Linked DNA regions of Homo sapiens: region 2 is linked to region 1. Evidence: promoter capture Hi-C in human tissues and cell types (Jung and others, 2019). All regions are on one chromosome and are shown on one strand. Each heading gives the region's core, a stretch centred on a gene start or on the middle of the fragment in contact. The rest is flanking DNA. Distances are from core to core; before and after follow the strand shown.

Region 1 (6,736 bases), core at 2,590-5,089:
TCCTCGGCCTCCCAAAGTTCTGGGATTACAGGCATGAGCCACCACGCCCGGCCCCTGCTTCATTTTTTAATCATTCAGTGTCTCCTCCTCGGATTCCCTTCTATGAGCAAATTTGAATATTTTTCCCCCGTGGAAGAGCCCAAATTCTGAGGACATCCCCAGTACCCTACCCTCAGGTATGATTAAAGGAGGTGACTTTAAAAACATTGACTCTTGCATTTTTTTTTTTTTGAGATAGTCTCTCACTCTGTCACCCAGGCTAGAGTGCAATGGTACGATCTTAGCTCACTGCAACTGCTGCTTCCCAGGTTCAAGCAATCCTCCTGCCTCAGCCTCCCAAGAAGCTGGATGGGTGCCCACCACCATGCCTGGCTAATTTTCATATTTTTAGTAGAGACGGGGTTTCACCACATTGGTCAGGCTGGTCTTGAACTCCTGACCTCAGGTGATCCACCTGCTTCGACCTTCCAAAGTGCTCGGATTACAGGCATAAGCCACTCCACCAGGTGGACTCTTGCATTTTCACATGTGCAAAATTCCAAAGAGAAATTCACTCAGGCAGTGGCACTGAATTTTCTGTGTATTTAACACACACATAAGCAACTCTTTATGATTCCTGCGAAAAGAAAAAGTGTTATTTCAACAATGTGGGTGTTGAGTACTCCATTCCAACCAGTGAGTGCATACTGTGGAGTGAGCCTCAGGTAAGGGTCAACTTGTGGCTCCCACAATCACTCTCAGATTCCAAGTGACCCTCCACCTCTCCTGAGCAGAGAAGAAAGTGACTACATTATTGAATGAAATCACATGTGTTTTTGTCTTAAGACTTAGCCCCTATATGCAAAACAACCACTTCACCTGGGACTAGTGATGGAGAAACTGCAACTTGTTCCAACACTAGAAGAAAAGCTGTTGGCCTGGACTTATTGAGAGGTGCTGCCGTTCAGCACTTTAAAGGTGGTTTGAGGGATTTTCAAGGGCAATTTTGACTCTCTGTGATTTTCACCTTAGGCATTGACTTTGGACTTAACTCCTATATAAGATGAGCCAACATCGTATCAGTGTGATTTATTTGGGTGTGCAAATTATGACATGCAAGATCACTGATGAGGGTGGGATGGGGCAGGGGGCATATGACTATTAGCTGTCCCTCTGCCCCCAACCCCTTAAAGATGACTCAAATTAACCATCATTATCTCTCCCGGAGCACCTACCTCATTAAATAACAACAGAAAAACAACAACCGCAGCAATACTATCTACCATTATTCCAAACGATTATGTGCCAGGTACTGTACAACCTCATGAGATTTTTTTCATACCCGCATTCTAGCTGAAGAAAATGAGGGTGAGAAGATAGGTAACACATCCTAGCCATGTAATTGGCCGGCTTGACTTCTAAGTCAGTGACTTATTTATTATTATTATTATTATTTATTTTTTTTTTTTGAGTCCAAGTTTTCGCTCTGTCGCCCAGGCTGGAGTGCAGTGACACAATCTTGGCTCACTACAACTGCAACCTCCACCCCCTAGGTTCGAGCGATTCTCCTGCCTCAGCTTCCTTACTGCATCATGCAAACTGACAGGGACGCTGTTCTCGGGATAATGAAGAAAGCAAACCGTGAGCATTTTGCAGAACACAATGGAAAGAGGGAGAACCTCTGTAGAAACAAATTAAACTAGGCTATGTCATAGGCTTGGACTAAAACAAATACACAAACAGTCATAAGTACGCTGATAGCAGAAAGCATCCCAGTCTGTCGATCAGGAACACATGGGGCACACACAACATGAGCAGATCTAGGCATCAATTGCAGAATGGGGCTAAAAGAGTTTTCCTGGCAATAAATGGCTAAGAATCCTCTGTGGCACCTTCAAGAGATCGAGATTCTCATAAGAACTAGCTGGTTGTGCAAAATTGTTTGTTAAAAATATGAATGCTTGGCCAGCCGTGGTAGCTAATGTCTATAATCCCAGCACTTTGGGAGGCCGAGGCGGGTGGATCACTTGAGGCCAGGAGTTCGAGACCAGCCTGGCCAACATGGAGAAATCCCGTCTCTACTAAAAATACAAAAATTAGCCAGGCGGTGGCGCACACCTGTAGTTCCAGCTACTCAGGAGACTGAGGCAGGAGAATCGCTTGAACCCAGAAAGCAGACGCTTCAGTGAGTGAAGATCACGCCACTGCACTCCAGCCTGGATAACAGAGACAAACTGTCTCAAAAAAAAAAAAAGAAAGAAAGAAAAAGAAAGAAAGAAATTAATGCTTAAATCTTCTCTTTGGTAAATTTCAAGGAGCTTTCACTTCAGAGCATATTGGCTTAGTTATTATCTACAAATCCACTTTAGTTTTACAAAGTTTCTATTTAAAATGCTCCTCTGGGCACTTCGCTGTATGGCAACCTGGTGATTCAACACAGATACAACAGAAATTCTGGAACTTAGATTGGGTAGAACTGTCACTTTGGGCAGCTTATTGCTGATTACACATGTTGTATGTATGTTCTTCATGGAGGCCATTCCCAAATGCTCGTCTGAGGACGTGCTACACCAGAATCACTCTGGTCTTAGATAAAAATATAGATTCCAGGGCCCCACTCCAAATCTTCTGGATCGGAATCTAGGAGTGGGGGACCAAGACTCTATGTTTTTAAGATGCTCCCCAGAATATTCTAATGTTCAGCCACAGTCAAAAACTGATGGTTGGAATATATGGTCTAATGGGCTTGGAAGGGAAGGAAAGGGAAGAACGGGTGTCTATTCCCGGATTTTTCACAGCAAAACTTGAAGATTTCCAAAAGTCTAATTCAGCAAAAATGATATTTCAAAGCAGACAACAAAAAAATGTGATGAATACACTTGTTCAGTCAAGGGCATCTAACATGCCAATTGGCCCTCTTCCCACATATTCCCAACACATTAAAAATACAGGTAAATCGGCCAGACACGGTGGCTCACACCTGTAATCCCAGCACTTTGGGAGGCTGAGGCAGGCGGATCTCCTGAGATCGGGAGTTCAAGACCAGCCTGACCAACATGGATAAACCCTGTCTCCACTAAAAATACAAAATTAGCCAGGTGTGGTGGCACATGCCTGTAATCCCAGCTACTCAGGAGGCTGAGGCAGGAGAATCACTTGAACCCAGGAGGCGGAGGTTGCAGTGAGCCGAGATCACACCATTGCACTCCAGCCTGGGCAACAAAGAGCAAAACTCTGTCTCAAAATAAAAAATAAAAAAAAAAAATACAGGTAAAACAAGAAACGTCTTAAAATTCACACCTACCTTCTGAGATGAGCAATCCATGTCACCCATGGTGTCCACTCTAATTGTAGCTATTTTTTTAAAATGAATAAAGAGCTTTCAGCTTCTCCAGGGATGTGCCTCTCCTATCCAGTTGGTCTGAAATTCACACTTCCTTATAGCATAATGGGGATGACACCAACAATGGAACTTTCCAGATGTTCTGAAAGCTCTGTTCATGAGGTTGCCTCTCTGAGGTCATAGACTTTGGCCCGCTGAGGAGTTCCCTGGTAAAAAAGGAGAGAAAGGGAAGCTAGAGATAAGGGGACAGCACTGGGTTTCTGCTGCGCTTTTGGCTCTGGTTCCTAGTCCCCCAGCGGTGGCCACGCTTCCTTTCCCTTGAGTGCTTCTCTCTTGGAAATTTTCCAGAAACACACTGAGTTCACTGCAGAGGAAAGACTGAAGCAGAGTTACACATTAATACAGAGAAGAGGGAGACTCACCCCTCCAAACAACATCCTGGCAGCCCGAACTGTTCTCCCTCCTCCTCCCTGGACTCTTAACACTGGCAGTGCTTGTATGCAGGCGCTGGGCACAGTAACCATGTCTCAGCGTCTGTTGCTAAGGGAAGGAGGGGCCTCTGCGGTGCCTACATACAAGACTGGGCATGACCTAGCTCTGTGAGCTGGTGTCTCCCTTTGCTGGAGGCCCAGGTGGGCAGCAGGAAGTGTTGGTGACAGAAGGGAACATGGGAAGGTGTTTAGCAATGTTCCAGGAATAACAGAGGCAACAGCAATAAAAGACCTTTGGAGACGTCGAAAAGCACAGAGTATGGTGGTTAAGTTCTTGGGATCTACAATTGGACAGGTCATACTTCAGATCCTACTCTTCTCATTAATTAGCTGTGTGGCTTGGCAAGTTGTTTAATCTCTCCAAGTGTCCTTTCCGTCTGTAAAATGGCAATAATGTGAGTCCCTACTTCATAGGGTTGCTTTGAAGGGTTAACGGGATAACGTGTACAGAGCGATTTGCATATAGTAGAAGGATAACTGATATTTTCCCAGTTTTTCCCCGTTTTTTTTTTTTTTTTTGAGACAGAGTCTTGCTCTGTTGCCCAGGCTGCAGTGCAGTGGCGTGATCTCAGCTCACTGCAAGCTCTGCCTCCCGGGTTCACACCATTCTCCTGCCTCAGCCTCCCACCAGTGCGCCCAGCTAATTTTTTGTATTTTTAGTAGAGACGGGGTTTCACCGTGTTAGCCAGGATGGTCTCAATCTCCTGACCTCGTGATCCGCCCACCTCGGCCTCCCAAAGTGTGGGATTACAGGTGTGAGCCACTGCGCCCAGCCCAGTTTTTCCCCATTTTAACACTAAGTCCTGCATCCTGGGAGCAATCTCAGTCCTGGGCAAACTGGGATAGTTTGATCACCCAACACAGTCAATGCTCTATAAATGTTGTGGCTAACATCAATATTACGATAAACACAGAAATACATGTGCACATACTCAAAAGTAACAATATTAGCTGCCGCCCGAATATTAAAAGCACATGTTCCATGGTCACTGTGAAGTTCTCTCAAAACCAAGTTAGACTTAATGAGTTTTTTGGGGGTGCCATGCTTGCATATCTTTTTTTTTCATTCAATTTCCCCCCAAACACCACGATATTCCCATTTTAAGGATAAGGAATCAAAACTGAGAGATATGGGCCAGGTATGGTGGTTCATGCCTGTAATCCCAGCACTCTGAAAGGCTGAGGTGGATGGATCACTTGAGGTCAGGAGTTTGAGACCAGCTTGGCCAACATAGTGAAACCCCATCTCTACTAAAAATACAAAATTAGCCGGGCATGGTGGTAGTCGCCTGTAATCCCAGCTACTTGGGGGGCTGAGGCAGGAGAATCGCTTGAACCTGGGAGGGAGGTTGCAGTGAGCACAGATCATGCCACTGCACCCCAGCCTGGGCAACAAGAGCGAAACTCCATCTCAAAAAAAAAGAAAAACAAACAAAAAAACTGAGAGATACATAACTTTCCTAAGTCGACTTGACTCATAAGTAGCACTGATACAATTGGAACCTGTCCTGATGACCCCGAGTCCACTGCTCTTTCCATAACCTACCTGTCCAGAACACAAACATTCCCGAGTTCCTATGAAAAGCATTGCATAGTGAGAGGTGACAGCGTGCTGGCAGTCCTCACAGCCCTCGCTCGCTCTCGGCGCCTCCTCTGCCTGGGCTCCCACTTTGGCGGCACTTGAGGAGCCCTTCAGCCCACCGCTGCACTGTGAGAGCTCCTTTCTGGGCTGGGCAAGGCCGAAGCCGGCTCCCTCAGCTTGCAGGCAGGTGTGGAGGGAGAGGCGCGAGCGGGAACCCGGGCTGCGCACGGCGCTTGCGGGCCAGCTGGAGTTCCGGGTGGGCGTGGGCTTGGCGGGCCCCGCACTGGGAGCAGCCAGCTGGCCCTGCCGGCCCCGGGCAATGAGGGGCTTAGCACCCCGGCCAGCGGCTGCGGAGGGTGTACTGGGTCCCCCAGCAGTGCTAGCCCACCGGCGCTGCGCTCCATTTCTCACCGGGCCTTAGCTGCCTTCCCGCGGGGCAGGGCTCGGGACTTGCAGCCCGCCATGCCTGAGCCTCCCACCCCCTCCGTGGGCTCCTGTGCTGCCCGAGCCTCCCCGACGAGCGCCACCCCCTGCTCCACGGCGCCCAGTCCCACCGACCACCCAAGGGCTGAGGAGTGCGGGCCCACGGCGCGGGACTGGCAGGCAGCTCCACCTGCAGCCCCGGTGCAGGAGCCACTGGGTGAAGCCAGCTGGGCTCCTGAGTCTGATGGGGACGTGGAGAACCTTTATGGCTAGCTCAGGGATTGTAAATACACCAATCAGCACCCTGAGTCTAACTCAGGGTTTGTGAATGCACCAATCGACACTCTGTATCTAGCTGCTCTGGTGGGACCTTGGAGAACCTTTATGTCTAGCTTGGGGATTGTAAATACACCAATCAGCACTCTGTATCTAGCTCAAGGTTTGTAAACACACCAATCAGCACCCTGTGTCTAGCTCAGGGTCTGTGAATGCACCAATCCACACTCTGTATCTAGCTATTCTGGTGGGGCCTTGGAGAACCTTTGTGTGGACACTCTGTGTCTAGCTAATCTGGTGGGGACTTGGAGAACCTTTGTGTCTAGCTCAGGGATTGTAAACGCACCAATCAGCACCCTGTCAAAACAGACCACTAGGCTCTACCAATCAGCAGGATGTGGGTGGGGCCAGATAAGAGCATAAAAGCAGGCTGCCCGGGCCAGCAGTGGCAAGCCGCTTGATCCCCTTCTACAACGTGGAAGGTTTGTTCTTTCACTGTTTGGGTTCATGCCGCCTTAATAGCTGTAACACTCACGGTGAAGGTCTGCAGCTTCACTCCTGCGCCAGCGAGACCAGAAACCCACCAGAAGGAAGAAACTCCGAACACATCCGAGCATCAGAAGGAACAAACTCCAGACGCGC
Region 2 (7,430 bases), core at 2,524-5,023, 140 kb after region 1:
TTAGCACATTATCAAACCAGAGGAACAATTGTGGGAGTCCTAACATTTGTAGTTATCCAGGCAGAAGTGCAGGTACCCTGTATTCCCTATTTGTGGCTGTGTCTAAAGCGGGTGCAATCTTGTGGGATTGGTTCTTTAACCCATGGAGTCTGTGCTAACTTATAAGCTTAAGCAACAAATGAGTCAAATAAAAAATCACAAGGGAAATTCGAAAATACTTTGTAGTGCTAGAATTGAATTCAATTGTAGGACACCCAGTTGGGGTGTCAGAGAATAGGACAATTGGTTGTTTATTTAAAAACCAAACAGGAGGACCAATGTAAATTATTCTTTAGATGTTTGGTGGAATTCACCATTGAAGCCATCTTATCCCAACCTTTTCTTTGCTGAGAGGTTTTTAGTTACTAATTAAATATCTTATTATAGGTCTATTCAGATATTTTACTTGTTCTTGAGTTAGTTTTGTAGTTTGTGTGTTTCTAGAAATGTGTCCTTTTCATCTAGGTTATGAATTGTGTCCTTTTCATCTAGGTTATCAATTGCCCTACATTTGTTCATAGTATTCTCTTGTAATGTTTTTTAATTTTTGTAAGATTGGTAGTAATGTCTTCTCTTAGTTTCCTGATTTTAATAATTTGAGGCTTCTTTCTTATTTTGGTCAGTCAATATAAAGGTCTTTGATTTGTGTTGATTCTTTAAAGGGATTGTATATTTTCCCTGGCCTGTTGTTTTTACATTCTCTATTTATCTCTGTTTTAGTCTTTATTATTTCCTGCCTTCCACCGGCTTTGGGTTTGGTTTGCTCTTCTTTTTCCAGTTTTTAAGGTGGAAGACTAGATTATTTATTTGAAATAGTTTTAAATGTAAGAATAAATGTGAAAAAACTAAACTGCTTTTCTTATAAGTTTTGGTATACCATATTTTTGTTTTCATTCATGTCAAAGTATTTTCTAATTTCCCTTATGATTTTTTATCTGACTCATTTGTTGCTTAAGTTTGTATTGTCTAATTTACACATATTTGTGTATTTTCAGATTTCCTTCTGTTACTGATTTCTAATTTTGTTCCATTGCAGTCATAATAAGATGCTTCATATTATTTCAGTTTTTTATAATTTATTAAGACTTGTTTTGTGGCCTAATTAATGGTCTGTCCTGGATAATTTTTTTATGTACACTTGAGAAAAAAATGTGTATTTTGTTATTGTTGGGTAGAGTATTTTATATATACCTTTAGGTCAGGTGGTTTATTTTGTTGTTCATATCTTATATTTGTTTGATCAATGTAGTTGTTCTATAATTATTTAAAGTGGGGTATTGACATCTCCAACTACTATTGTTGAAAGCCCTTAAATCTGTCAGTTTTTGCTTCATATATTTTAGGGCTGTGTTGTTAGGACCATATATGTTTGTTACTGTTGTATCTTCTTCATGAATTAACCCATTTAATAGTATATAATGTCCTTCATCTCTTATAACCGTTTTTATCTTAAAGCCTATTTTGTCTGACATTAGTAGAATCATTCCAGCTCTCTTTTGGTTACCGTTTGCATTGAATATATTTTTCTGTCTTTTAAACTTTTATTTGTGCCTTTAAATTTAAATTGAATCTGTTGTAGGTAGCATATGGTTGGATCATGCTTGTTAAAATCCATTCTGCCAATCTCTATCCTTTAATTGGAGCAGTAATCTATTTATATTTAATGTAATCACTGATAGGGAAAGACATACTTCTACCATTTTGTCATAAGAATGTCATAAGAATTTACATATTAGGTGCAAACTTACCCTCTACCTCCTCACTCAGGTGACACCCTCTCTTCTGTCAAAGTGAGAGTTGAAGCCAGCTGGGCTGCTGGCACAGGTGCCCGGCTTTTATTCCCTTATTTGGCCCTGCCCACATCCTGCTGATTGGCCCATTTTACAGAGCGCTGATTGGCCCATTTACAGAGTGCCGATTGGTCCATTTTACAGAGTACTGATTGCCAGCTGGGCTTCTGGGTGGAGTGGGGACTTGGAGAACTTTTGTGTCTAGCTAAAGGATTGTAAACACACCAATCAGCACTCTGTAAAATTGCACCAATCAGCACTCTGTGTCTAGCTAAAGGATTGTAAATGGACCAATCAGCACTCTGTAAAATGGACCAATCAGCACTCTGTAAAATGGACCAATCAGCACTCTGTAAAATGGACCAATCAGTGTTCTGTAAAATGGACCAATCAGCAGGATGTGGGTGGGGCCAAATAAGGGAATAAAAGCTGGCCACCAGAGCCAGCAGTGGCAATGTCGGATCCCCTTCCATGCTGTGGGAACTTTTTTCTTTTGCTGTTCACAATAAGTCTTGCTGCTGCTCACTGTTTGGGTCCACACTACCTTTGTGAACTGTAACACTAACCACGAAGGTTGTAGGCTTCATTCCTTAAGTCAGTGAGACCACGAACCCACCGGGAGGGACAAACAACCTGGATGTGCCACCTTTAAGAGCTGTAACACTCACTACAAAGGTCTGCAGCTTCTCTCCTGAGGTCAGCAAGACCACAAACCCACTGGAAGGAAGAAACTCGGGACACATCTGAACATCTGAAGGAACAACTCTGGACACACCATCTTTAAGAATTGTAACACTCACCGCAAGGGTCCGTGGCTTCTTTCTTGAAGTCAGCGAGACCAAGAACCCACGGGAGGGAACCAATTCTGGCCACAAAAGCATCTTACAAATATGCTTTTTGCTCAGACTTATAATTTCATCTTTTTTTCCAGTAATTTGAACTCAGTCTTGAAGTCTTACAGTGACAGTTCAGAGCCTTACCTCTTAAACATGTTTCTTATTTACTCATATATATTCATAAACTGTTATACATATTTAATTTAGTATTTAGAGGAATCTCAGCATCAAGTTTGTTTCTCTGAGGATGTATGTCCTTTCAACTGATGATATATTCCTTATCCTCTTTCCACTGTTGAGTCCTAGGCTACATTTCCTATCACATCTTTGCTTTTTCATTGGTTATATAAAATAAACGGTATGAGAAATAATCAGCATTGGTTTCTTGTTCGCATGAGATGACAGGAAGACAGATGATATGGACATCAGCTTTCCCAAAAGGATTTTCCAAAGCTGTAATTATCAACACAAACTATGTTTCAAGAAATCAGGGGTAGTATACTTTATGCTAAAAACGGAGGGTTTGTGAGAATAATGTTACAGCTTTTAATTTTCTCTGTTTAATTTTATCAACTTGGGAGACTTTTGTTATCCTGGGACAGTTCATTTCATATAAAGCATGCTAACATTATCTTTTTCATTGCAGATTGGAATAATACTTTTAAAAACTTTCTGCTTGATTCATTCCTGCTGGTACCCATTTATAACCTTGGGATGAGCATCAGCAAATACTATGATATCCAAGAGGTGAATATGTTGTGTTCCTGTTGAAAAGTATTCCTAACTCCATAAATTACAGTACAGAAAGTGAGTATCTGAGGCTCTACAAATCTCATCAGAGCTACTGGTAGTCAATTACTTATTACATGTGAATAATTCTACCTACATTACTGTGAATCTTGACAATAACTCAAGTTATATGTTATCCTCATTTTGAAAAAACTAAACCTTACACAATGTAAAAACTTGCTCAACACCACAAAATTTGTACAAGATAGCACTAAGATTCAAAGCTTATGTGCATAATGCATTTTCTCTGTGGGAAAGAATCTCTGTGATTAGTATCTATATTGTATTATACATTAATCTCAATAGAGGGGAAAGCACTTGAAAAAATTTAACACCCTTTTATGATGAAACTTCTCAACATCTTTGCATGTGCTTATTTGCCACATGTGTATCATCTTTGGTGAAGTGACCGGTGAACTTTTCTTTCATTTATTGTTGAATTGGTCTTTTTTCTTACTATTGGGTTTTGAGAATTCTTTGTACGTTCTGAATATCAGCCCTTTGTGTAGTAAGCCATTTGCAAATATTTTGTCCCAGACTATGGCCTTTTATTTTTTTCAAAGCATCTTTTAAGAACCAAACGTTTTTAATTGTGGTGAAGTTAAATTTATCATTTTTTAGTGAATTGTGCTTTTAGTGCTATATCTAAAAAACTTTGCCCAATACAGAGTCACAAAAGCTTGATTGGATGTCTTCTTCTAGAAGTTTTACTTAAGAGAAATGAAAGCATATGAACATAGAAACACTTGTATGCAAACATTCATAAATAGCTTTAATTATAAAGGCCAAAAATTGAAAATAACCCAATGTCCATCAACATGTGAATGGGTAATCAAACTGTGAATTATTCATACAATGGAATACCCTCAGCAATAAAAATGAATGATCTACCAAAAAAGAGACTTTTCAGCAAAGGAGGACTAGAATGAAACATCTTCACTTTGAGTAAGGAAATCTAGAAATATCTATTGCTAATATCATTTTCAAGGCAATACCATTGTGGTAGCATGAAATACATAAAACATTTAGGGAAAATTTTAAAAAAGATGTGCAGTACCTGTACACTGAAGACTGAAAACATTGCTGAGAAAAATTAAAGATGACTTGAGATAATGGAGAAATATACCTTATTCATGGATCAGAAGACTCAATATTTTTAAATTGTCAATTGTCCCCAAATTGATTTATACGCTCAAAACAATCTCAATCAACATCCTAGAGGCTTTTTATTTTTGGTAGAAATTTAGCTGATTCTAAAATTTATATGGAAATTCAAAAGAACTTCATTATCCAAAAATATATATTTTCTTAATTGCAAGATTTTGTGACAACTCATTTTAAAACTTATTATAAAACTACAGTAATTAAGACAATGTGGTATTAACATAAGTAGAGACATAGATGACAGATGGATGGATGGATAGATAGATAGATAGAATAAGATACAGAGTTCAAAAATAGATTCACACATGTATGGCCAATTGATTTTGGATTCAAAAGAACTTTATTATCCCAAACTATACTTTTTTAATTGCAAGACTTTGCACCAACTTATTTGAAACCTTATTATAAAACTACGATAATTAAGACAGTGTGGTATTAGCATGAGTAGAGACAGAGAAGATAAATGCATGGATGGATGGATGGATGGATTGATGGATGAACGGATGGATGGATGAATGAATAGATGGATAGGTAAGTAGATAGAAGATAGATAGATAGATAGATAGATAGATAGAATAAGATACAGAGTCCAAAAATAGATTCATACATGTATAGTCAGTTGATTTCAGATGAGGTGCCAAAGTAATTCAAATGAGAAAGGATAGTCATTTCAATTAGTGGTCATGGCCCTAACCTGTAAAAGCTTGTGATTATTTGATACCTAGCAAACAGACAAATAAAATCCCTATAACCTCTTAACTCTATCCCAGTAGGAAGAAGGTTGTGAAAACTGTGCATTCTAAAAGACAGCGTAGATTGAAACACCCACTTTGGATGCACCAAGGGAAAAGCAAATCTGAGTGCTACAGGAGACAGTGAACAAGGGAATCTCTCATAGAGAGCAGGTGAGGATTCTGCAGAAAAGAGAATACGGAACACAGTGGCAACAGCGGTAGATCCATCATGAGCTGGGAAATACTGAAAAAAATCTCTGAGAACTAGACCTAGTCAATCAAAATCCTGGTTATAGGGGGAAATAAATAAAGAGGCTTGAAAATGTGCAAAGCTATAAATGTTAATCTTGAGAGATATTAATTTGGAGGTTAGAGAGAAGCAACTTAGAAAATAGAAGTGCCCTTTAGAATTAGGGTAGCAAAGAGAAATAAGGACATGTCCAGCATAATTTAACTTCATACAGATATTAGCAAGAATCACAGAATTGAGTCGCTTCATTCCCTTAGAAAAAGTTCTATTTGTTAAAGAAACTGCACTTCACTGTATTAATAGAAGAAGATGAATATGTACTAAGAAGCTTACAAACTAATCAAAATATTACCATTCATCCATTAAATCACTTGTTATTGTTGGTTCAGATAATCAATTTAATATGCCATAAGAAGGAAACAGAAGAATATCAAAATACTTCAATTGATGAAAATTCCTGTCCCTCACCTGCCAAAGGAAACTAACCACAAAGCAGAGGGAAATAGTAACTAAGTATCAATATACGGGAAACTGGAGAACAATTTGTCAGCAAAAAGGTAGAATACGCATAACTTCTCATTACCATCTCACAAAAGCTTCAAAAATTAGCAGAAACTGTCTGAACCAATTTTGTCAGGACTATGGAAAACAATCAAAAGTTTATAGCAACCAAATGAATACTGAACCAATAAAAAAGTCACTTCAAAACAGTGGATAGTTTTGTGATGATTTTACACGCCCTTGCCCCTCTCCCTCCCTGGCACAGGAGTGGTCGTGGTCTTGAAGCAGGAGTAGTCTGCAGTCCCAGTTTTGGACCGTTTTCCCTGGCTCTGGAGGGTGCGGAGCAGAATTTATTCGCAAATTATTATTATTTTTTTAAATTTACTTTAAGTTCCGGGATACATGTGCAGAATGTGCAGGTTTATTACATAGGTATACATGTGCCATGGTGGTTTGCTGCACCTATCAACCTATCATCTAGGTTTTAAGCCCCATGTGCATTAGGTATTTGTCCTAATGCTCTCCCTCTCCTTCCCCGCCACCCCCTGACAGGTCTCAGTGTCTGATGTTCCCCTCCCTGTGCCCATGTGTTCTCACTGTTCAACTCCCACTTATGAGTGAGAACATGCAGTGTTCGGTTTTCTGTTCCTGTGTTAGTTTGCTGAGAATGTTGGTTTTCAGCTTCATCCATGTCCCTGCAAAGGACATGATCTCATTCCTTTTTTTTTTTTTTTCTTTTTTTTTTGAGACAGTCTTGCTCTGTTGCCCATGCTGGAGTACAGTGGCGCGATCTCGACTCACTGCAACCTCCACCTCCTGGGTTCACACCATTCTTCTGCCTCAGCCTCCCAAGTAGCTGGGACTACAGGCACACACCACCACGCCCAGCTAATTTTTTTGTATTTTTAGTAGAGACAGGGTTTCACCATGTTGGCCAGGATGGTCTCGATCTCCTGACCTCGCAATCCACCCACCTCAGCCTCCCAAAGTGCTGAGATTATAGGCGTGAACCACCACACCGTGCTGATTTCATTCTTTTTATGGCTGCATAGTATTCCATGGTATATATGCACCACATTTTCTTTATCCAGTCTATCACTGATGGACATTTGGGTTGGTTCCACGTCTTTGCTATTGCAAATAGTGCTGCGATAAACATACATGTGCATGTGTCTTTACAGTAGAATGATGTGTATTCCTTTGGGTGTATGCCCAGTAATGAGATAGCAGGGTCAAATGGCATTTCTGGTTCTAGATCCTTGAGGAATCACCACACTGTCTTCCACAGTGGTTGAACGAATTTAAATTCTCACCAACAGCGTAAAAG

What was found. The method cuts DNA at HindIII sites, captures the fragments that hold promoters and counts their contacts. A contact is called where the count stands out against the background at its distance.
Region 2: a contact is called between a fragment that was not itself captured here and the fragment with the promoter of DNAH3 in region 1, in 4 of the 25 tissues and cell types used here (aorta, liver, lymphoblastoid cells and 1 more).

What each region holds. Positions count from the first base shown.
Region 1 is chr16:21,147,007-21,153,742 of GRCh38, forward strand. DNAH3 (dynein axonemal heavy chain 3) reads right to left here and starts at 3,840. Exons shown (of 62, transcript NM_001347886.2): 1 at 3,745-3,840; 2 at 3,284-3,528. The coding sequence starts at 3,313. RefSeq lists an enhancer at 6,002-6,296. The HindIII fragment of the contact is 16,051 bases long and covers 1-6,736 here.
Region 2 is chr16:21,287,867-21,295,296 of GRCh38, forward strand. LOC105371125 (a long non-coding RNA gene) reads left to right here and starts at 2,604. Exons shown (of 3, transcript XR_950905.3): 1 at 2,604-2,636; 2 at 3,312-3,472; 3 at 5,389-6,093. It also overlaps a transcript of CRYM not described here. The HindIII fragment of the contact is 3,703 bases long and covers 1,923-5,625 here.